6 separate regions of the Homo sapiens genome follow, and regions 1, 2, 3, 4 and 5 are each linked to region 6. The links are contacts of gene promoters, found by promoter capture Hi-C in blood cells and fetal thymus (Javierre and others, 2016). All regions are on one chromosome and are shown on one strand. Each heading gives the region's core, a stretch centred on a gene start or on the middle of the fragment in contact. The rest is flanking DNA. Distances are from core to core; before and after follow the strand shown. Region 1 overlaps DNHD1 (dynein heavy chain domain 1). Region 2 has its middle 2.5 kb from the start of HPX. Region 3 holds the start of DNHD1 (dynein heavy chain domain 1). Region 4 overlaps ARFIP2 (ARF interacting protein 2). Region 5 overlaps DNHD1 (dynein heavy chain domain 1). Region 6 holds the start of MRPL17 (mitochondrial ribosomal protein L17).

Region 1 (3,616 bases), core at 368-2,867, 130 kb after region 6:
AAAATTTCAATTTCCAATGTTTTGTTACTAGGATATAGAAGTACAAATGATTTCAATGGATTGATTCTGTATCCTGTGACCCTGATGAATTAACTTATTTATTGTAGTAGTTTTTTATGGGGTTTAAAAAAATATTCCTTTGGGGTCTCTATGTAGACAATCATATTACATGCCAATACAGACAGTTTTAACTTGTCTTTTCTAATTTTAAAAGCTTTTATTTCTTTTTCTTAATTGCGTCGATGTGGTCTCCAGTACAGTGTTGAATAGAAGCAGTGAGTATGTTCTTGCCTTTTAACTGATTTTAGGGGGACAGTATTCAATATTTAACCATTAAGTATGTATTTAGCTGTAAGTATAATAGATGCTTTTCATCAAATTGAGAAAGTTATCTTCTATTCCTAGTTTCCTGGGAGTTATGGAATAGTGTTGGAATTTTGTCAAGTGATTTTTATCTACTAATATTACTTACTCATTTGCTCCTTTATTCTGTTAATGTGAGCTACACTGATTGATTTTTCAATGTTTAGTCAGCTTTGCCTTCCCAGGATAGACTCCGTTTGGTCTTAAGATATTATTCTTTTTGTATGTTGCTGAATTTTATTTAATAATATTTCAGTGAGGATTTATTTTTGCATTTAGGTTTATGAAAGATAACAGTTTATTTCTTTGCTTGAAATGTCTTCATCATGGCTTAGTATTCTCCATTTTCTGAAAAAGTATATATAAGTTGTACTTTTTTTCTAAATATTTGATATAATTCAACTGTATAACCATCTGGGACTGGAAACATTTATTATGCATTCAAACTTTTCTTAGGTATGAGGCTGTTCATTTTCTATTATTTTTCTTCTTTTGTTCAAGCTTTGACAAGTTATGTTTTTGTAAGGCATGTGATATGGTTTGGCTCTGTGTCCCCAACCAAATTTTGTCTTGAATTGTAATCCCCATATGTTGAGGGAGGGACCTGGTGGGAGGTGAGTGGATCACGGGGCCGGCTTCCCCCATGCTGTTCTCATGATAGTGAGCAATTTCTCATAAGTTCTGATGGTACATCTCTTCACCCCACCCCGCCCCCGCCAACTGCTATGTAAGATGTGCCTTGCCTCCCCTTCGCCTTTTGCCACGACTTTAAGTTTCCTGAGGGCTCCCCATCCATGCGGAACTGTGAGTCAATTAAACCTACTTATATATATATATTTTTTGGGACGAAGTTTTGCTCTTGTCACCCAGGCTGGAGTGCAATGGCGTGATCCTGGCTCGTTGCAACCTCTGCCTCCCAGGTTCAAGCGATTCTCCTGCCTCAGCCTCCCAAGTAGTTGGGATTACAGGTGACCCCCACCACACCCAGCTAATTTTTGTATTTTTAGTAGAGATGGGGTTTCACCATGTTGGCCAGGCTGGTCTCAAACTCCTGACCTCAAGGGATCAACCTGCCTCAGCCTCCCAAAGTGCTGGGATTACAGGCGTGAGCCACCATGCCTGGCCTAACCCTCTTTTCTTTATGAATTACCCAGTCTCAAGTAGTTCTTTATTGCAGTGTGAAAACAGACTAATACAGCATGTATCCATTTCACCTAAGTTGCTAAATTTATTAGCATAAAGTTTTTCATAATTTTCCCTTATTATCCATTTTTTAAAACTTTTTTTTTTAAATGAGGGTCCCACTATGCTGCCCAGGCTGGTCTTGAACTCCTGGCCTTAAGAAATCCTCCTGCCTAAGCCTCCCTCCCTAGTAGCTGGGATTACAGGTGCATGCCACCATGCCTGGCTCCCCTTTTTTTTTTTGGAGACGGAGTCTCGCTCTGTCACCAGGCTGGAGTGCAGTGGTGCAAATCTCAGCTCACCGCAACTTCCACCTCCCTGGTTCAAGCAATTCTCCTGCCTCAGCCTCCCGAGTAGCTGTGATTACAGGTACATGCCACCATGCCCAGCTAATTTTTGCATTTTTAGTAGAGACGGGGTTTCACCATGTTGGCCAGGATGGTCTCCATCTCCTGACCTCGTGATCTGCCCTCCTTGGCCTCCCAAAGTGCCGGGATTACAGGCGTGAGCCACAGTGCCCGGCCCTGGCTCCCTTTTTATCCTTTTAAATATCTTTAATAAAACCTCTTTCATTCCTGATATTCAAAATTTATGTTTTCCTTTTCATTTCTTGATTTGTGTTAATAGGCGATTGTCAATTTTATCTTTTTCAAAGAAACAAAATATGGCTTTGTTGATATTCTCCATTGTTTGTATGTTTTTCTATTTCACTGATTTCTGCTCTGTTCTTTATTATTGATTTCCTTTTAATTGCTTTGGGTATAACTTGCTCTTCTTTTTCTAGAGTCTTAAGCTGAAAATTTAGGTCATTGATTCCAAGCTTTTCTCTCTAAGATAGATATTTAAAGCTATAACCTTTAGTTGCATCTCACAAATTTTGATATGTTTTGTTTTCATTATTATTTAGTTCAAAACATTCTCTAATTTCTCTTGTAATTTCTTTTTTGGTACATTATTTAGAAGTGTGTTAATTTTAAAGAATTTGGAAATTCTCTAGGCATCTTATCAATATTTGTATTGTTATGGTCAGATAAAATATTATTTAAAATGTTAATCCTTTGAAATTTGTTGAGACTTATTTTGTAACCCAGCATATGGTCTATCTTGGTGAATGTTTCATGTGCATTTGAAAAGAAGGTGCATTTTGCAGTTGGTGAGTATAATGTTTTGTAAATGTCAGTGTGTTGCTAGTGTTATTCAGATCTTTAATGTCCCTACTTTCTTGCTCCTTGTCTTATCAGTTATTGTGAGAGGCATATTAATTTCTTAATATGATTTCAGATTTACTATGTCTCTTTTGTTTCTATTGGCTTTTTTTCCCTATACTTAAATGTCTATTTTAGGTGTGGACACATTTAAGACTTTTGTCTTTCTGATGAGTTGAATCTTTCAATTATGAGATGTCCTTTTCTATCTCTGGTAATATCCTTTGTCTTAAAGTGCTTTGGTATTAATATTGCCACATCAACTTCCTTATGCAAACTATTTCTGTAGTAAATATTTTGCATTAAAAACTTCTTTTAATCTATCTGTGTTTTTATATTTAAAGTGCATCTTTTGGACAGCGTACAGCTATATAGATCTCAGGGTCAGTTTCTATTCTATTGCTTGCTTCTTCTTGACAGCAGGTCACATTATTTTCTGGGGGTTTTTGTTGGCATGTCTATTTATTTTTTATTTTATACTGGATGTTCTGGTGGTTGTCACTCAAGGACACCTTTTACATTCTGCCAGCAGTAATATTCTTCACTCTACAATGTTGCTGAAGTCTCTTCTCAGCTGAAATCTCTTCATATATCTGACTGTACCACTCTTTACTCCTTCTATTGTCTCTAATTTTGTGCAAATTCATTGCAAAGACCAAATAATATAGCTGGAAGGAACTACAGGTTTTGGAACCAAATAGACTTGAATTTTAATCTTGGTTCTGACACTTCATAGCTAGGGTATCTTGGGCAAGTTCTAAAATCTCTGTCTCTGTTTCTTCATCTTTAAAATAATTGCAAAAATTCCCCATCTTACTTGGCTTTTATGAGCACTGAAGATGACATAGACATATCATAGAGCACAT
Region 2 (3,309 bases), core at 624-3,123, 240 kb after region 6:
ATTCTATTAAAACCAAAGATAATCAGTACTTAAAAGTAATCACTTCCTAATTATTTTACTACATTTTACTATCCCCTGTGCTCTTGTGATTATTTATATCTATCATATCTGTATGGTAGGAATATTGTATGCAGTGTGTTACTGTACATCCCTTCCCAACTCTACATTTGGTGATGTCTTGTCGGTAGCTTAAAGTTGGCCATGGTAGGAGTATTTATATCACAAAAATCTGCAAATGTTACAAATCAGTGCTTTTTCCCCCTAGAGAGCAGTTGTTAAATATTTGCCAGCGAACCCCTTGATAAGAACACACTATCCTTGTAGGAACACACCCCTAGGAGTCAGGCACCCAGGGTTTAAATCATGGCTCTGCCACTTGCTAGCAATGTGATTTGGCTAAGATACCTAATATTGGCTTCCTCATTCATAAAACGGGACTCATAGTGCTACCTTTGTCTGTTTGTGCTGCTATAACAAAATGCCCATGACTGATGATTTATAATGAACAAAAATGTATTTCTCACAGTTCTGGAGGCTGGGAAGTCCAAGATTAAGGTGCCCAGCAGGTTTGGTGTGTGGTGAGGTCCTGGTCTCTGCTTCTATGATGGCATTTTGAACGCTGCATCCTCTAGAGGAGACAAATGCTGTTCATCACGTGGCAGAAAAGCAGAGGAGAGAGAATCCACTTCTGAAAGCCCTTTTTATAGCAGCATTAATCCATTCATCGGGCAGAGCTCTCATGACCTAAACACCTCTCATGAGGCCGCACCTCCAAACACTGGCACATTGGGAATTAAGCTTCCAACACATCAATTCGGAGGGGACAGAAACATTCAAACCATAGCAAGTGCTATATACATGCTATATATATATATATATAGCACTAAGGCCCATTATAGACTGAGCAAGAGGAGGGGTCAGCTGGGATCAGCAAGCTCTTTGGCTGCCTGGAGCTTTATCCCTAAGCCTCCTACCCCTGAGGAAAGGAGACATTCAGTTCCTGCTCCCTGGAGTATACAGCCACAGACTTCAGGCCCAGCACACCTAGCACTCAGTGGGCCCAGGAGAAATGGCTAAGGTCAGAGAACTCATATCAACAGCAGAGCAGGCTGGACATAGACATAGCCATTCCAAGGGACAGTGGGTCAGTGTCCAGCTTACATCTGGCTCTTGGCAATGCAGGAGGAAGCTCTGTCATTTGCAGACATTTGCAGGTTCGTGTTCAGACCCCTTCTGGGAGAAGTAAAAAAGCTGCTGGTTAGGAGGATAGAGAAGACTACCCAGGAAAAGAGATGGTTGAATTTCTCTGGGCTCGAGTTCCCAGAGAAGCAAGAGATTGAGGTCCCCAAATCCACTCTGGGCAGCAAGGTTTGCAGAAGAAGGGAAAGAAGCATAGAAGGGTGTGTACCACTAAGGATGCACAGCCAGGGCTGAGAGGAGTGTGGGACAAAGGCTGTGGAGAGCTAGTTTCAGAGAGGAAAAACTCCTGGGCTCTGGCCTCTAGTTGAAGGGCGGGAGTGCACTGATTCCTGCGGCCTGCAGGGGGTGCTCAGGCCCAAGTACCGACAAGCTTCTTTCCTCAGCCCCAGTAGGAAGCCTGGGAAGGACCCAGGACCCACAGAAGGGGCCTCCTGTAGTGAGGGGAAGAGAAGCAAGGCTGCTGAGTCTTGACTACCCTGAGAAGTCTTGGCTTGTACCCTGTGACCAACACCAGGGTGGCCAACATATCCACAGCCCTGGGTTCCCAAATGTGTACAATGTTCTACTTTCAACTCCTGCCCAAAACTTGAACTTCAACCTGGACTGCCTGCAGTGCAGATGACTCTGCTGGCCTAGTCCCTGGGTGGAGCAGGAGGATCCAGTAATGGTTTCTAAGCCATTCTCGGGTACACAGGTGAATTAGGAAGCAACAGGGAAAAGGGACCATAAAGTAGTATTCTGGGATAGATGGATCCGGGGTGCTGTGAGGGGGACCACACCAGGTGTGTGGGGAAGGGGTCAAGCTGAAAAATGATCATCCAGTATATGTGCTGTATGCCCTCAGACAGCCCTGTTAGGCCAGAAGGAGACTGCACCCTTGGACTGGCAAGTCAGTGCAAGGCCCTGCTAATAGGACTATTGAAGACTCTCACTATGGGTTTTCTGTGGGGTGTTTGTTTCTTGGGGTGAAAGCTTCCCTCTCCCCAGGCAGGCCCAGCAAAATCTGTAGGATTCAGACAGGGTTCTGACAGCTGAAGACAAGTTGTTGAGGAAATTCCTGATGGAGGATCATGGGGTGCTCAGGAGGGAGAATATAAGGTTTCAGAGGCTGAGAGGGAAAGAAAAGGTGAGGGGGAGTCTTAGAATAGTGGCTCCCATTGCCCAACACCCAGAAAGAAGACATGCCCTGCAATGGGGAGAAGGTGAGTATGAGACATTGGCTGTAGCAGCGATGGCATTGCCCAGGCTGCCAAGGACTCAGAGAGTCCAGCCTTGCCCACTGACCTATGAGGAGGGAATGATGTTCACAGCACATTTTCATTCGTAAGTCAGGAGAGGACATTGAGCCTGATGGCAGAGGCCTGGTGACATGTTGTTCCAGAGGTTCCGGAATGTGTGTTTTCCTGTTGGAAGGAAACTTCGCAGAGTAGAAAAGGGATCTGAGACTTTTGGTAAGATTATATATGGGACTGTCAGGGGTCTGGAGCCATCTGTGAGGGATCAGGGCCCTTTCAGCCTTGGCTAGGGAGCAGGGGTCCTGGAACTTCATCCTGGCCCATAGCTGAGTCTGCCCATAATTCTTTTCTGACTCACTAGGCAAATCTCACACAGAAATGGGGCAGCTTTGGGAGTGGGCCCAGGAAGTACTGAGGATAGCAGGTGAGATCCCAGGAAGAGATGGATGTGGGGCCGAGACACTGGAGAGAGAAACAGGACTGTCAGATAAAGGGCGTCTGTGACTCCTAGATCTCATTATGCCTACTACCATAACCTACCCCCAATTCCTAATATTCTCCTACCCTAGAGGGGGGGAAATTGTCAGAAATTTGGCTGCAACACTAGCAACACTACTCAGTACTTGAAATGCATTTTTGCATTTTTTTCATTCAACAAATATTTCTGGAACAACTCTTATATGCCAGGCACTATTTTAGGAGTCAGGGATATATAATGGTAAACAAGACAGGCAAAACAAAGCAAAGCAACAACAACCATCACCAGATAAGTAGACAGATGAAAGAATTTCAAGTTTTAGTAAGTAAAATAAAACAAGCAAGGGTCTGAAATGGCTAGATAAGGTGGTCAAGAAAGGCTTCATTGAGAAGGTAG
Region 3 (3,240 bases), core at 617-3,116, 190 kb after region 6:
ACTGGGTTTATTTTGCAGAGAAAAAGGAAGAGGAAAGTAGCCTCACACTAGCTTTGTGTGGAGTTGGGCTAATCCCTGTGATAAACAGAGAGCTGGATCTAAACTTCCAAGTGACCCCAGAGGCACCCATAAAACAGCAACTTTTTCTCCTCTGCTCAAGCCCTAGACTGAGTCCCTCACTTACCTGGTCTCTTTTCTTCCAACAGGCTCCACCTCTGCATTGTCAGTGTCACTGCTTTCATACCGTACAGGGATGTCCGCTGCCAGTGCCAAGGGAAGGAGACTAAGTCCATCCAGCCACACAGCCTCTTCTAGGGCCACCTGAGCACCAACAATGCCCAGGCAGCGCTGTAGCTCAGGCAGTGTCAATGGTCGCAGCCAGGTGGCCAGCTCCTCCTTTACTTGCTGCCTGCTCCACTGGGCCTGCACAAAAGGGCAAGCTGGGCATGGGGGCCTGTGATGGAGCCTCCGCTTCTGGGGACAGCAGTCAGCATGGGAAGCACTGTCTAACAAAGAGCTGTCTGGAGGAAAGGCCTGGACAATGGCACCTAGCAGGTCCAGATGGAGGTGGGTTTGGACCCAGGGTGCCCAGCAGTACAGCTGCTCCAGGAAGGGCAGCAAATCAAGGTGGCCAACTAGCAACTCACGATATGGAGGCAGTAGACCCAGTACTGCATGAAGATAGCGCCAAGCTGCAGGGCTACTGTCCTGCAACACAGCTGAGAACAGAGTTCGGAGCTCAGCTAGCAGGAGTTCCAGCACTGTGGGCTGCTCTGACTCAGTCACTGGCTTCACGAACTGCCTCTGTTTCTGCTGGCAGGCCAAGGGCTGTTCTTTGCTGTCCAAGACACATATGGAGTGCCAAGACTTAAGGGAATCAGATGATGTCTCATCAGAAGACAAACCTACCCTCCTCTCCTCCGGGACCATGAGGAGCTGGGCATTCAACTGCTGTCGAAGTGACCTTGCCCATAGCTCAGGCTCCAACTGCCAGTTCCAGGATGCCAGATGCGGGGCCTCACCTGCATGGGCCAGCCCAGCAGAGGGGCCAGAGAAGGGACCTCAGGCTCTGGGCAGGGGATGGTCAGAGTCAATGGGGTTAGGAGGAAGAAAGGACCTGGGACAGGGAAATAGATGGAGCTACAGAGCAGAGCCAGACCAGCAGAGAGCCTTTCCTGAGACCCTCAGGCCCTCCCTACTGCTTCCCCAAAGACTCTGGTAAGGAGCAGGCCTAAGACAGACGTGAGAGCCCTCCTTGCAGAAGAGTTCCTTCTTACCTCCCAGTACCCTGTCCCCCTCACCTGGCCTAGGGGGGTTAGGAGGCAAGGCAAGGGAAGAGAGCCCGATCTGCTGATGAGGTTTCATTGAAGAGTGCCTGCTGGAGCAGTGAATGAACTTAGACTTGAGTTCCAGTCTGAGGCTCACCCTAATCATAGCCACCCATACACGGAGAGACTCGCACACAGACGTGCAATCACCTGAAGAGGCAAACTGACACACCGACAGAGCTCACTCTGAACCTCGGTCACAGCAAGGAATCTGCACTCGAGCTGGCGATCGCCTGAAAAACGGGTTAACAGGTCGTCACTCGAAGGCAGCAGAGCCCCAGTCCCATGACGTCTTCGCCCACAGCCTAAGGAGGTCGTGAAGACAGAAAGCCGAGGAGCAGGCACAGCAAATGATGGTCAGGATGCAGGTAGGGGAAGACGTTAACAGGCAAAGGAGGGGGCTGGGAGAGCGGGGAAGAGGAGGCGGACTCTGTGGGAGGGGGTCCTAGGGAACAAAGAGAAATGGATCCGGAGCCGAGGACTCACCCGCAGCTCCACCCGCACCCAGCTGTTAGAACCGTTACAAGATTCCAGAAGGACCGAGTCTTTGCCAGGAGCATCCGGGGGAGCCAGAAAGAGGAGGGGCCAGGGTCCGATATGGGCGGGGCCGAGAGGGCAGAGCCCAAGCCTGGAGGGGCAGAACTAGGTTCAACCTGTGGGCTAAGGCTTGCCTGGGACAGGGACCTGTAGAGGACCAGGCGGGGTCTGAACTGCACGTGCAGTACGGTTGACTCGGGAGACTAGCAATCCAGAGGGTGTCGTAAGCAGGTGTTTATATCCATTCGCTGAGTATCTAAACTAGTGCCAGGTCTTTGGTATGTCTTTGGTACTCCCCCATCCCCACCCCCAACGTATCCATCTACCCTATCCCACCTCCCCAAAAGAAGCCCGAATAAAACAAAATCCTTGATCTCAAGGAGCTCAACATCTATTTGGCACGGGGGGAGGGGGATTTTTTGGGGAAGGGCTTATGGAGGGGCTAATTTTTAAAAATTAAGTTGAATGAGGCCGGGCGCGGTGGCTCATGCCTGTAATCCCAGCATTTTGAGAGGCCGAGGCGGGTGGATCACGAGGTCAGGAGATCGAGACCATCCTGGCTAACACGGTGAAACCCTGTCTCTACTAAAAATACAAAAAAATTAGCCGAGCGTGGCGGTGGGCGCCTGTAGTCCCAGCTACTGGGGAGGCTGAGGCAGGAGAATGGCGTGAACCCAGGAGGCGGAGCTTGCAGTGAGCAGAGATCGCGCCACTGCACTCCAGCCTGGGCGACAGAGGGAGACTCTATCTCAAAAAAAAAAAAAAAAAAAAAAAAGTTGATGATTAAAATAAAAAAAGAAATTCAGCCCACCTCTCCTCTGAAATCAGATTAGTATATCCAACTGCCTACTTAATGTCTCCACCTGGAGAGCTTATAGGTATCTCAAACTTAAAATGTCCAAAAGCAGGCTCCTAACCACCCTTTCCCCACCAAAGAAATGCTGCTCCTTTCACTGTCTTTCCCACCTCAGTCAATGGCAAATCCATTCTTTCTGGTTTCTCACACCAAAACCTTGGAGTCAGCTTTGAGACCTCTTCCAAACCCCTTCTTTCTCTTTCCCTCTTCTTTTTCCCTTTCTCTTTCTCTCTCTCCCCCTCCCTCCATAAGTAATCCTTCAGGAAATTCTGCTGGTTGTGCCTTCAGAATATATCCAGAATCCAACTATTTCCCACCATCTTAAGTACTACAACCTTGGTCTAAGCTGCTATCATTTCTCACCTGGGTTTTTCCACAGCCTTTGAACTGTTCTCCTTGCCTCAGATCCTTCTCATGCTTCTCACCATTGCCCCTACAATCCATTCTTTTTAGAGCAGCCAGTGATCCTTTTCAAATATAGGCAGATCCTATAACTCCTCTGCTCATAGCTCACTAATG
Region 4 (3,465 bases), core at 233-2,732, 210 kb after region 6:
GCAAACCCCTCCTCTAACCCCCAAGGAGGCCATATGTATATCAGGATTTGGTTCTCACCGCGCAAAGTCCGAGTTCCTCCTAGTAAGCAGGAGCATCCAGTTGTCTCTAGCATCTCCTTCAGGGAAGTCAATTTCATGTGCTCGAAGAGAAGTATGGGTGGGGCCACAGAGGTGTCTGGTGTATCTGAGAGAGGCTGGTGTCAGAGAACTTGATCCTTTAGGGTCTGGCCGCCATCCATCTCACAGCACCACTCCTTCTGGCCCTGGAGATGAGGTGGCTCGGGGCATTGCTGGAGAAAAGTTTGACATCGTCAAGAAATGGGGCATCAACACCTATAAGGTAGGATTTAAGCACCTCTCCCTTCCCCAAAACTCCTTATGGGTACCTTTTTCCCTTTTCTTCGTGATCGTAATATCCCATCTGTGGCTGAGAGTAGGAGCCTGGGGGGTGCTGGGGTAGATACCTGTTGTGTGGGGAGGCTGTTAGGGTCTCTGATTTATTCCCCCATTTCCCAATCAGTGCACAAAGCAACTGTTATCAGAACGATTTGGTCGAGGCTCACGGACTGTGGACCTGGAGCTAGAGCTGCAGATTGAGTTGCTGCGTGAGACGAAGCGCAAGTATGAGAGTGTCCTGCAGCTGGGCCGGGCACTGACAGCCCACCTCTACAGCCTGCTGCAGACCCAGCATGCACTGGGTGATGCCTTTGCTGACCTCAGCCAGAAGTCCCCAGAGCTTCAGGTGCCTCACCCAGACCAAAGAGGGTGGGGGAACTGGGCATGGGCCCTCCCAGGCAGTCATTCCTCATCCTCCCTCCCTCCTGCAGCCCACAGGGAGAACCCCTTCAGGGTGGGCCCAGCCCTACCCCCAGCAGCACTCACCTGTGGAGGCAGCCTAAGGGTTTGTACAGAGGTCCAGAAGTTGGAGGGGGTGGGGGAGGGGGCACACTAGGTGCCTCACAAATAACCCCTCTCTGCACTGGGGAGAATGCCTTCGTGCTCAGCCTAATCAGAGCCCCTCCCCTGCTTGCCACACTAGCTCTCAGACTGTTCCAGTCTTGTGAACTTACCCAAGAATGCCCACCACCCACATTCCTACCCCAGGTATCCCCAGGGTGATCCCACTAACTTTCCGGCTAAGAGAGCCTTGCTGGAGGCAGTCCTTGGTTGTTCCAGTTTTGCTGGCTGTGTCCTCCCCGGGGAGGAGGGGAATGAAGGGCTCTACAGCTTCAGTCAGGTAGGGAGTGTTATTCAAGGTCTGTTCCTCCCTTCTGCCCTCAGGAGGAATTTGGCTACAATGCAGAGACACAGAAACTACTATGCAAGAATGGGGAAACGCTGCTAGGAGCCGTGAACTTCTTTGTCTCTAGCATCAACACATTGGTCACCAAGACCATGGAAGACACGCTCATGACTGTGAAACAGTATGAGGCTGCCAGGTGTGGGCACTGGCAGGGCTTAGGGTTTGGGGAGTTGGCTGGTATGGGTGGAAATTTGGGCATTAGGGGCATAAGAATTCAGGAAGGAAAGGAGAGTATGTGTTGAGGATAAAGGAGTGGAGACCAGCCTTTATCACCCCCTCCCCAGGCTGGAATATGATGCCTACCGAACAGACTTAGAGGAGCTGAGTCTAGGCCCCCGGGATGCAGGGACACGTGGTCGACTTGAGAGTGCCCAGGCCACTTTCCAGGCCCATCGGGACAAGTATGAGAAGCTGCGGGGAGATGTGGCCATCAAGCTCAAGTTCCTGGAAGAAAACAAGGTGCCAACCCCACCCCCTTGACCCTAGCCCACCTTTCCATCTGTAACACTAACCTTCCCCTCAGACCCTCCCCATTATTGAATGAGGAAATGCAGCCTAGCTGGGGAGTAGAGTGTTCACCCCCTCAACCCCTGGGCCTTTCCAGATCACCCTCCCTCCAATTCCTGGCCCTTTCCTGTTGGAGGATTTGGCTGCTGGTCCCAGGAACATAACTGGGAAAAATCACCCCCTGAGCTGGGGTACAAAAACCCTAGGCCCACAAATCCAGTGAGGTTTCTTCCATCATACTGACCCTTCTCCTTTGACTCCCTGGGTAGAGTTCAGCCCCTACCCCAAAAGCACCATCAGAGCAGAGTCCTTGTGCCCCTGGTCTGTGCCTGGGCTCAGGCTCATAGACCCTCAAGAAGGGCGCCTGAGTCCAGCCTTAGCTGACCCTGCTGGACCCCCAGATCAAGGTGATGCACAAGCAGCTGCTGCTCTTCCACAATGCTGTGTCCGCCTACTTTGCTGGGAACCAGAAACAGCTGGAGCAGACCCTGCAGCAGTTCAACATCAAGCTGCGGCCTCCAGGAGCTGAGAAACCCTCCTGGCTAGAGGAGCAGTGAGCTGCTCCCAGCCCAACTTGGCTATCAAGAAAGACATTGGGAAGGGCAGCCCCAGGGTGTGGGAGATTGGACATGGTACATCCTTTGTCACTTGCCCTCTGGCTTGGGCTCCTTTTTCTGGCTGGGGCCTGACACCAGTTTTGCCCACATTGCTATGGTGGGAAGAGGGCCTGGAGGCCCAGAAGTTGCTGCCCTGTCTATCTTCCTGGCCACAGGGCTTCATTCCCAGATCTTTTCCTTCCACTTCACAGCCAACGGCTATGACAAAACCACTCCCTGGCCAATGGCATCACTCTTCAGGCTGGGGTGTGCTCCCTGACCAATGACAGAGCCTGAAAATGCCCTGTCAGCCAATGGCAGCTCTTCTCGGACTCCCCTGGGCCAATGATGTTGCGTCTAATACCCTTTGTCTCTCCTCTATGCGTGCCCATTGCAGAGAAGGGGACTGGGACCAAAGGGGTGGGGATAATGGGGAGCCCCATTGCTGGCCTTGCATCTGAATAGGCCTACCCTCACCCACCCACCCAGTTTAATTGTGCTTAGAGCCCAAGAAGATTGGGATCTAGCACTAGGAATAAACCTTTCATAAAAGCAGGCCCAGCGAGGTCAATTTGTCGGGGACTCTAGGAGGGTGGCCTGGGTGGAGACAAGCTCAGTCTAATCAAACACCAGAACCCTATCAAGTCAAAAGAGCTGGGGCCAGGCAGCTGAAGTCACAGGTTTCAGAGATGGTTTGAAGGCCCAGTCTTCTCTCCCAGCCTCAGTTGGAGCCAAAGCTTTGTCCTTTAGCCAGCACCAAGATAGCTATGGATCTTAAGAGCACCAGATCCAGAGGGGGTTGGGTTTGCTGACCTTCATCATGCATTCATTCATACAGCAAATATTTACTGAGTGCTTTCATTTGCCAGGGACTGCGTTAGGCCCTGGGGAAACATCAGTGAATAAAACACGGTCCCTGCCCACAGTGCTTAGGGCCTACTGAGGGAAAGAAGTAACCAGGCAACTACAAAACAGTGATAAGTATTAGGATACAGAAGTACAGAGGGCGCTGTGGGAGCACAAAGGAGGGGCATCTGGCATGGACTGGGGTGGAAATGG
Region 5 (3,274 bases), core at 29-2,528, 150 kb after region 6:
TGTGATTCCCAAGGCTTGCTTGGGGTCATACAGGACACAGAACCCTGAGTTCCAACTCTTACTTCAGTTGAAGGGTCTATCACAGAGTGATAATGGAGGGTGCAGGGATCCTCAGTACCAGTGAAGATGGCATAGGCGTGGTGCAGTTCACTGAGGTCGCTGACTGTGTTCTGGAACTGACGCTCTAGGGAGACGAGCTGGTGCTCAGTACTCCTCTGATCTTGTGTGGGGTCCATAAAGGGACCGGAGAGGGCCTTCGCAAGCAGGCCTTCCAGCTCTGCCAATGCTGCTGCCATCAGCTGCTGCAGCTTGGGCATAATGGCATGTCGCTTGCTGAGCAGGAACTCTGAAGCCTGGCTTTTCTCAAACTGAAATGCCTCCCACATATCCAGAAGCTGTGGGGCAAGCAGAGGGCAGTGGAGTAGATGTGGTTGTGGGGGAGGAGGGCAGGGAGGGATGGGTGACTCCCCGAATTGCCTTCTCACCGAGATGTCCAGTGCTTCATTCTCAGCACTAAAGAGGCTAAAGTGGTTGCGGATGAGTTCGTGGAGTGCCCGTACGTATTCCATTCGCTCCTCCAGCTCGACGTACTGTTCATTGGCTTCATTCAACTGCAGGAATTACAGCATGAGACCGGCAGCCCCACAACCCCATGTACCTCTTTGGTCCCATCCCCAAGGGGAACTCCCACCTTTTGGAGTGAAGTCTCCAGACCCAGTTGCAGCCTTGTAATCAACTGGAATCAGGGGCAATCTCTCCTGAGGGATCTCTCCAGAGGGATCAAATCTCTCTCTGACCCAGATCTCTCTGGTGAAGGGTCCACTTCTCACCCACCACCCCATTACCTTGATGACAAGGCAACAATTTTCTATCTGACTGTCACAGAGAGCACAACTCTCTCATCACACCAGGGCCTCCCTGTGACATGAGGAACCTGAGGGCCACATGGACAGGGTAAGAATTAGCAAGGGTAGATCTCTTAGGCGAGCACAGTTTAAGAGCATCAAGCTCTGCTGGGGGCTCAGCAGAGACCTGAAGAGAGTGTGCTGAGCTTTTGAGCAGGATGGGCCCTGAATAAACTGGGAAGGATGGATGGGGAGAGCCCACCTTCTGGGTGCACTGTGCAATGGCATGAATATCTGAGTTGATGGTTCGGAAGATATGCATGAAATCTGTGAGCTCTGTCATGAGTTGTTGACTGAGGTTCCAGCACTCATTTTGCACGTGTGCAAGAATGTCCTTCCTTATGCTGTTCAGCTTGGATTCTGGAGACAGGAGAGTAAGGTGTGAGGGGACGCATAAAAAAGAAGGGGTGCTGGGGACAGTGCTGTGGTCCAGAGTGGGAGTAGGCTGAATGGCAGGTCAGACCATGAATTATCTCATTTAATGCTTGTTGAATCCCTGCTCAATGTCCAGTCAGCTGCTATGCACTGGGGACTGTGCTCTATACTGGTAGACGAGAGCAAATGAATGAGACAGAAAGTTTCCCCACCCTGAAAAGCTCACAATATGAGGCAGAGACAGACATACAAATGAGCAATCACAAATCAGTGTGATAAATCCACTGTGAGTGCCTGGAGCCTTCAGCCAGTATAGCTAAGAGGTGGGGGTGCCGGGGGGTATCCTGAGAAGGCTGGGCAAGGCCCCTTCAGAGAAGGGAACACTGGAGTTGGATGTGTTGAGTATTAATTCTCCAAAAAGATGAAACAGTGTGTGCAACAGTATGGAAATGACATGTTTGTGAATAGCAGAGTATCCTAGCAGACATAAAAGTATTCTGGTTTTGGAGTCTTACTGCCCTTGCTCTAGAAGAAGGGGACCAAGAAGGTAGTATGATCTGCCTTTTGTTTTTAAGGATTAAAGTAAAGAAAGTCTCAGGTGGATAAGGGGCTAGAAAGTAATCCTGGAAGCTGCCCTTGGCAGTATGAACAACTTTATTATCTCAGAGGGCAGGGATAACACCCATATGATACCTCATAAAATCTAAGATCCCGTTGTAAGAAGCACCATTATTTTATATACCACTAACAAAGAAAAAAAACTGATGCCATCTAAACTCTAACACATCTTCAATCATGAGACACCTTTAAAGTTCAGAGATGTTAAAATATGCACAGAATAGGAAAAATACAATATAGAAATATGGTACACCAAATAGAGTATAGAGTGCTTTCTACATACCAGACACTATTTCAAGTACTTTAATTATATTTTATCCTCACAAATTCCCTTTGAAGTAAATACTATTATTTTACAGATAAGCAAACTGAAGCTCAGAGAGGTTATGTCACTTGATCAACATCACACAGTGGCAGAGCAAGGATTCAGACTCAGGCAGCATGGCTCCACTTCATTATATTTTAAATATAAACATGTTTATGTTATAAATATAAATGTAAACATAAAAATATATGTTTATAAAAAGTATTTAAAAATATTTTTTATGTTATGTGCAAAGTAAACTGACCGATCCTCTATTAGCATCTCTGCAACTAGTAAGTAAAATAGTGAGTTTGGGGGACAGATAATTGAGACATACTGGGTATGTCACTTTCAGAGACTTGGAGGAAGTAACCAAGATGACTGGGTACTAAGACCTGATAATAAGAAAACCTGCTGAGAGGAAGCCTATTGAGGGACAACCTATATCAAACAGAACATGAAGATCTAAACTCATCCTTTTTCACACTGTCCCTTTGGAACATAACAGTAACTAGGCCATTGCAATGCTGCCACATTTGTTTGCTTGTTTGTTTGTTTGTTTGTTTATGGTGCTGCTTTTGGACCAGTAGCAACAGGCAGATGAAGGCAGATGGGAGCTCAACAGTGACACCGTATGGTATAAAGGAGCAATGCATTGATAAAATACCAGGACTCCTTGGGATTAGAAGCTGGAGATGGATAAAAACAGATTTAAGAGATACTTAGGGGGCAGAAGAATGACAAGGATTTGGAGACAGGTTGGATGTAGTAAGGTCAAGGAGAGGGAGGAGTAAAGGGTGACCCCAAGTTTCTGGTGAAGCTAATTCGTCAGAGTGTATAATTACGCCATTTGTTGTTCAAGGGAGTTCAGGAAGAAGAGAAACGACAGAGTTAAGTCAGAGGGTTAGATAAAATTAGATCAGCAAGAAGGATGAGAGTAGATACAAGGGGATAAGGTGAAATGAAAAAAATATTAAGCACCTACTGCATGCCACACTCAATGCTAAGAGTATTGCAAATAATATCTTAGTCATCCTTACTATAACCCTGTGAGTGACTGTGTTATCATGCC
Region 6 (3,487 bases), core at 988-3,487:
CCTCTTCACAAGTTTTTACCAATAGAAATTTATGATAAATTTTCTGGTGGGCCGGGCACAGTGGCTCACACCTGTAATCCCAGCACTTTGGGAGGCTGAGGCGGGCAGATCACCTGAGGTCAGGAGTTCGAGACCAGCCCGGCCAACATGGTGAAACCCCGTCTCTACTAAAAATACAAAAAAAATTAGCCAGGCATGGTGGTGGGCGCCTGTAATCCCAGTTACTTGTGAGGCTGAGGCATGAGAATCGCTTGAACCCAGGAGGTGGAGGTTGCAGTGAGCCGAGACCGCACCATTGCACTCCAGCCTGGGCAACAAGAAAGAAACTCCGTCTCAAAAAAATATATATATATCCTGGTGAAAACATCTTAGTGAAATTTTTCAACTGCAAAGACAATTGAAAACTACAAGAATTGCTCCCAAAGAAACAAAACATGAATGGTAATTGTAATTTCTGTAATTTATTGTAAATTTCTTTAATTGTGAAGTGTGATTTGTATAAATCTGTCAATGTATTTATATGTTCATGACTTTTCCTATTTGCATATTTGTTCCTTCATATTAAAGAAACTTTTCAAAATTAAAATTAGCAAAGAAGTGTTCTTTGGTCACCTATAAGCTGACAAAGTGACAAATCTATACGTCTACTGAATATGTACATGTAAAGAGGAGTGAATTCATTTCCTAAGACTGCTGTAACAAACTATCACAAACTGTGGAACTTAAAACAACAGAAATTTATTGTTTTGTGGCTCTGGAGGCTAGAAGTAAGAAAGCGATGTGTTAGCAGCAGGGTCATGCTCTCTGACAGATCTGAAAAAGAATGCGTTTTATACCTTTCCCTTGGCTTCAGGTGTGCTCCAGCAATCCTTGGTGTTCATTCATTGATTTGCAACTGCTTGACTCCATAATCTCTGCTTTCAAGGTCACATGGCTTTCTGCCTGTATGTCTCTGTCTTTACCTGGTCAGCATCACCCTGTGTCCATCTCTCTCTCTTCATGCGCATTTTTTTTTTTTTTTTTTTTGAGATAGAGCCTCACTCTGTCGCCCAGTCTAGAGTGCAGTGCCCGATCTCAGCTCACTGCAACCTCCACCTCCCGGGTTCAAGCTATTCTCCTGCCTCAGCCTCCCGAGTAGCTAGAATTACAGGCATGAGCCACCACGCCCGGCTAATTTTTGTGTTTTTAGTAGAGACGGGGTTTCGCCATGTTGGCCAGGCTGGTCTCGAATTCCTGACCTCAGGTGATCCGCCCGCCTCGGCCTCCCAAAGTGCTGGAATTACAGGAGTGAGCCACCGTGCCCGGCCTGCATATATGTATGTACGTATATATGTGTCTATCTATCTAGCTAGCTAGACACTAGGCATTTTGGATTAGGCGCCCACCTATGCCTGCATGACTTCATCTTAACAAATGACATCTGCAATGACCCTATTTCCACATAAGGTCACATTCTGAGTTACTGCAGGTTAGGACTTAACATAGCTTTTTGGGGACGGGAAGAATCATGGGGAAGACACAATTCAACCCATAACAAGGAATAATTTTGACAGTCATTGCCAATTTGCAGATGTTAAGGCTCAAAAACAAACTATAATATTATTGTTCATTAACACATAAATGTGTAGGTATGTTTTTTCCCCTTAAAAAGACACACTGGTGTAATTAAAAACAATCTACTACTTTTCCCTTTAGTGCTGTAATTTTTTTAACTGGAGTGATTACTTCAATAAAAGAAAAATTTCACTATCTGCGTTTCTTTTCCGGGCATCGTTATTATCCATCTCACCATTACTACTGAAAATCACTGTGTTAAAAACAATGCGTACAGGTGTCAACCAGGCCAGCTGGCCACTGCTGGACCCGGTAGGGCCGTCAGCCCGCAGGACCCCGAACCCTCCGGGTGCCTTTCTCTTCAGACGCTCTCTTTCCCAGGAGTCTCCGCGGCGGAGCGCCCCATCGCCCTAAATGCCACTGGCTGACGCAGCCCCAAAAAAAACCCGATGGCCCGCTTATCCCACACTAGGGGGCGCCTGGTTCTTCGGCCGCCACAGAGCGCTCTGGATGCCTGAAGCCCGCCCAGCTCGCCGCCTCTGGAAAAGCTCAACACCGTTTCTCCGCCCTTCCCGAGATTGCCAACGAGGCAGGCTCTGATGCGCATGCGCAAACACGTTCACCACGCTCCGAGCTAAGGCGCATGCGTTCCCTGAAATTGCCGCCACCGGCTCTACCTTCCAGTTTCCAGTTCCGGCCTCCAAGGGGCGGGCAGAAGTTGGAAACATGCGGCTGTCGGTCGCTGCAGCGATCTCCCATGGCCGCGTATTTCGCCGTATGGGCCTCGGTCCCGAGTCCCGCATCCATCTGTTGCGGAACTTGCTCACAGGGCTGGTGCGGCACGAACGCATCGAGGCACCATGGGCGCGTGTGGACGAAATGAGGGGCTACGCGGAGAAGGTGAGGAGCGCGGCCCTCTTGTCCACTCTGCGGGTCTGGTCTGAGGGGGCGGAGCCGGCTGCAAGTGGAAAGGGACCGGGACCAACCTGGTAAACCATTCCCCAAGTCTGAGTCCCCCAGAACCTTGGGCTGAACCCGCCCCTCCATCGCCTCTAATGGAAGACTGGTTAGGGCTGCGGAGTTAGGGGTGGCGTAGATTGGAGATGCTTGGCTAGTGGAAAGAATGGATTGCCTTCCGGCATTAGAGAAATTAGATTGGCACCTTGTTTTCTTGCTCGGTTGGATCCGTGATGTTATGTCCTCACAGCTCATCGACTATGGGAAGCTGGGAGACACTAACGAACGAGCCATGCGCATGGCTGACTTCTGGCTCACAGTGAGTGCGACCTATCTGCCTTCAAAATCCCACCCTTTGCTCCCTGGGGGTGGGGGTTGGAAAAAGGAGAACTATGCAGAATTAAACTTGGGTACTCACTTATGGGCCAGTGCTGCTAACTAAATTAGAAACTGTGTCTTAAGTTAGTTGAAGTCGATGTGAATATACCTCTGCACAACTGCCTATAAACGACCCCTTTGTGTAACACTGACTATGCCAGATTGGCGAGGGGAGGGGGAGGTCTTTCTATGTGTGGATGGACCTTACCTTTGGGAATGGTGTAAAGTTAAATGCCTCTGCAGTTTTGCCTGACTCTGCTGTCTCTTGGATAATTCTCCCTCTAGGAGAAGGATTTGATCCCAAAGCTGTTTCAAGTACTGGCCCCTCGGTACAAAGATCAAACTGGGGGCTACACAAGAATGCTGCAGATCCCAAATCGGAGTTTGGATCGGGCCAAGATGGCAGTGATCGAGTATAAAGGGAATTGCCTCCCACCCCTGCCTCTGCCTCGCAGAGACAGCCACCTTACACTCCTAAACCAGCTGCTGCAGGGTTTGCGGCAGGACCTCAGGCAAAGCCAGGAAGCAAGCAACCACAGCTCCCACACAGCTCAAACACCAGGGATTTAACTGGATCTGAAGAGTCTGCAGCCCTTAA

What was found. Contacts are between HindIII fragments. The CHiCAGO score rates a contact against its expected background, and 5 or more counts as called.
Region 1: a contact is called between a fragment that was not itself captured here and the fragment with the promoter of MRPL17 in region 6, in 5 of 17 cell types (activated CD4 T cells, M0 macrophages, non-activated CD4 T cells and 2 more). The highest score is 6.9, in activated CD4 T cells.
Region 2: a contact is called between a fragment that was not itself captured here and the fragment with the promoter of MRPL17 in region 6, in 4 of 17 cell types (activated CD4 T cells, naive CD8 T cells, total CD4 T cells and 1 more). The highest score is 6.5, in activated CD4 T cells.
Region 3: the fragment with the promoter of DNHD1 here is called in contact with the fragment with the promoter of MRPL17 in region 6 in 2 of 17 cell types (neutrophils and total CD4 T cells); the score reaches 5.9 in neutrophils.
Region 4: a fragment that was not itself captured here is called in contact with the fragment with the promoter of MRPL17 in region 6 in 2 of 17 cell types (naive CD8 T cells and non-activated CD4 T cells); the score reaches 6.5 in naive CD8 T cells.
Region 5: a fragment that was not itself captured here is called in contact with the fragment with the promoter of MRPL17 in region 6 in 15 of 17 cell types (activated CD4 T cells, total CD8 T cells, monocytes and 12 more); the score reaches 11.7 in activated CD4 T cells.

Annotation. Positions count from the first base shown.
Region 1 is chr11:6,550,114-6,553,729 of GRCh38, reverse strand. The region is part of intron 24 of DNHD1 (dynein heavy chain domain 1); the gene reads right to left. Among named protein-coding and RNA genes, the nearest start is that of RRP8, 52 kb to the left of the region's middle. The HindIII fragment of the contact is 1,501 bases long and covers 867-2,367 here.
Region 2 is chr11:6,441,829-6,445,137 of GRCh38, reverse strand. No RefSeq gene overlaps it. Among named protein-coding and RNA genes, the nearest start is that of HPX, 2.5 kb to the right of the region's middle. RefSeq lists an enhancer at 1,714-1,783. The HindIII fragment of the contact is 602 bases long and covers 1,573-2,174 here.
Region 3 is chr11:6,495,906-6,499,145 of GRCh38, reverse strand. DNHD1 (dynein heavy chain domain 1) reads right to left here and starts at 1,866. Exons shown (of 43, transcript NM_144666.3): 1 at 1,815-1,866; 2 at 1,479-1,561; 3 at 185-1,375. The coding sequence starts at 930. The HindIII fragment of the contact is 5,087 bases long and covers 1-3,240 here.
Region 4 is chr11:6,476,015-6,479,479 of GRCh38, reverse strand. It overlaps ARFIP2 (ARF interacting protein 2), which reads left to right. Exons shown (of 8, transcript NM_001376558.2): 4 at 222-340; 5 at 521-742; 6 at 1,282-1,439; 7 at 1,588-1,762; 8 at 2,212-2,961. The coding sequence ends at 2,367. Among named protein-coding and RNA genes, the nearest start is that of ARFIP2, 3.6 kb to the left of the region's middle. The HindIII fragment of the contact is 3,327 bases long and covers 1-3,145 here.
Region 5 is chr11:6,531,018-6,534,291 of GRCh38, reverse strand. It overlaps DNHD1 (dynein heavy chain domain 1), which reads right to left. Exons shown (of 43, transcript NM_144666.3): 13 at 1,108-1,265; 14 at 119-611. Among named protein-coding and RNA genes, the nearest start is that of DNHD1, 35 kb to the right of the region's middle. The HindIII fragment of the contact is 4,335 bases long and covers 1-3,274 here.
Region 6 is chr11:6,682,090-6,685,576 of GRCh38, reverse strand. It overlaps MRPL17 (mitochondrial ribosomal protein L17), which reads left to right and starts at 2,237. Exons shown (of 3, transcript NM_022061.4): 1 at 2,237-2,454; 2 at 2,762-2,830; 3 at 3,175-3,487. The coding sequence starts at 2,281. The coding sequence ends at 3,459. RefSeq lists enhancers at 2,077-2,516, 1,933-2,695. The HindIII fragment of the contact is 17,410 bases long and covers 1-3,487 here.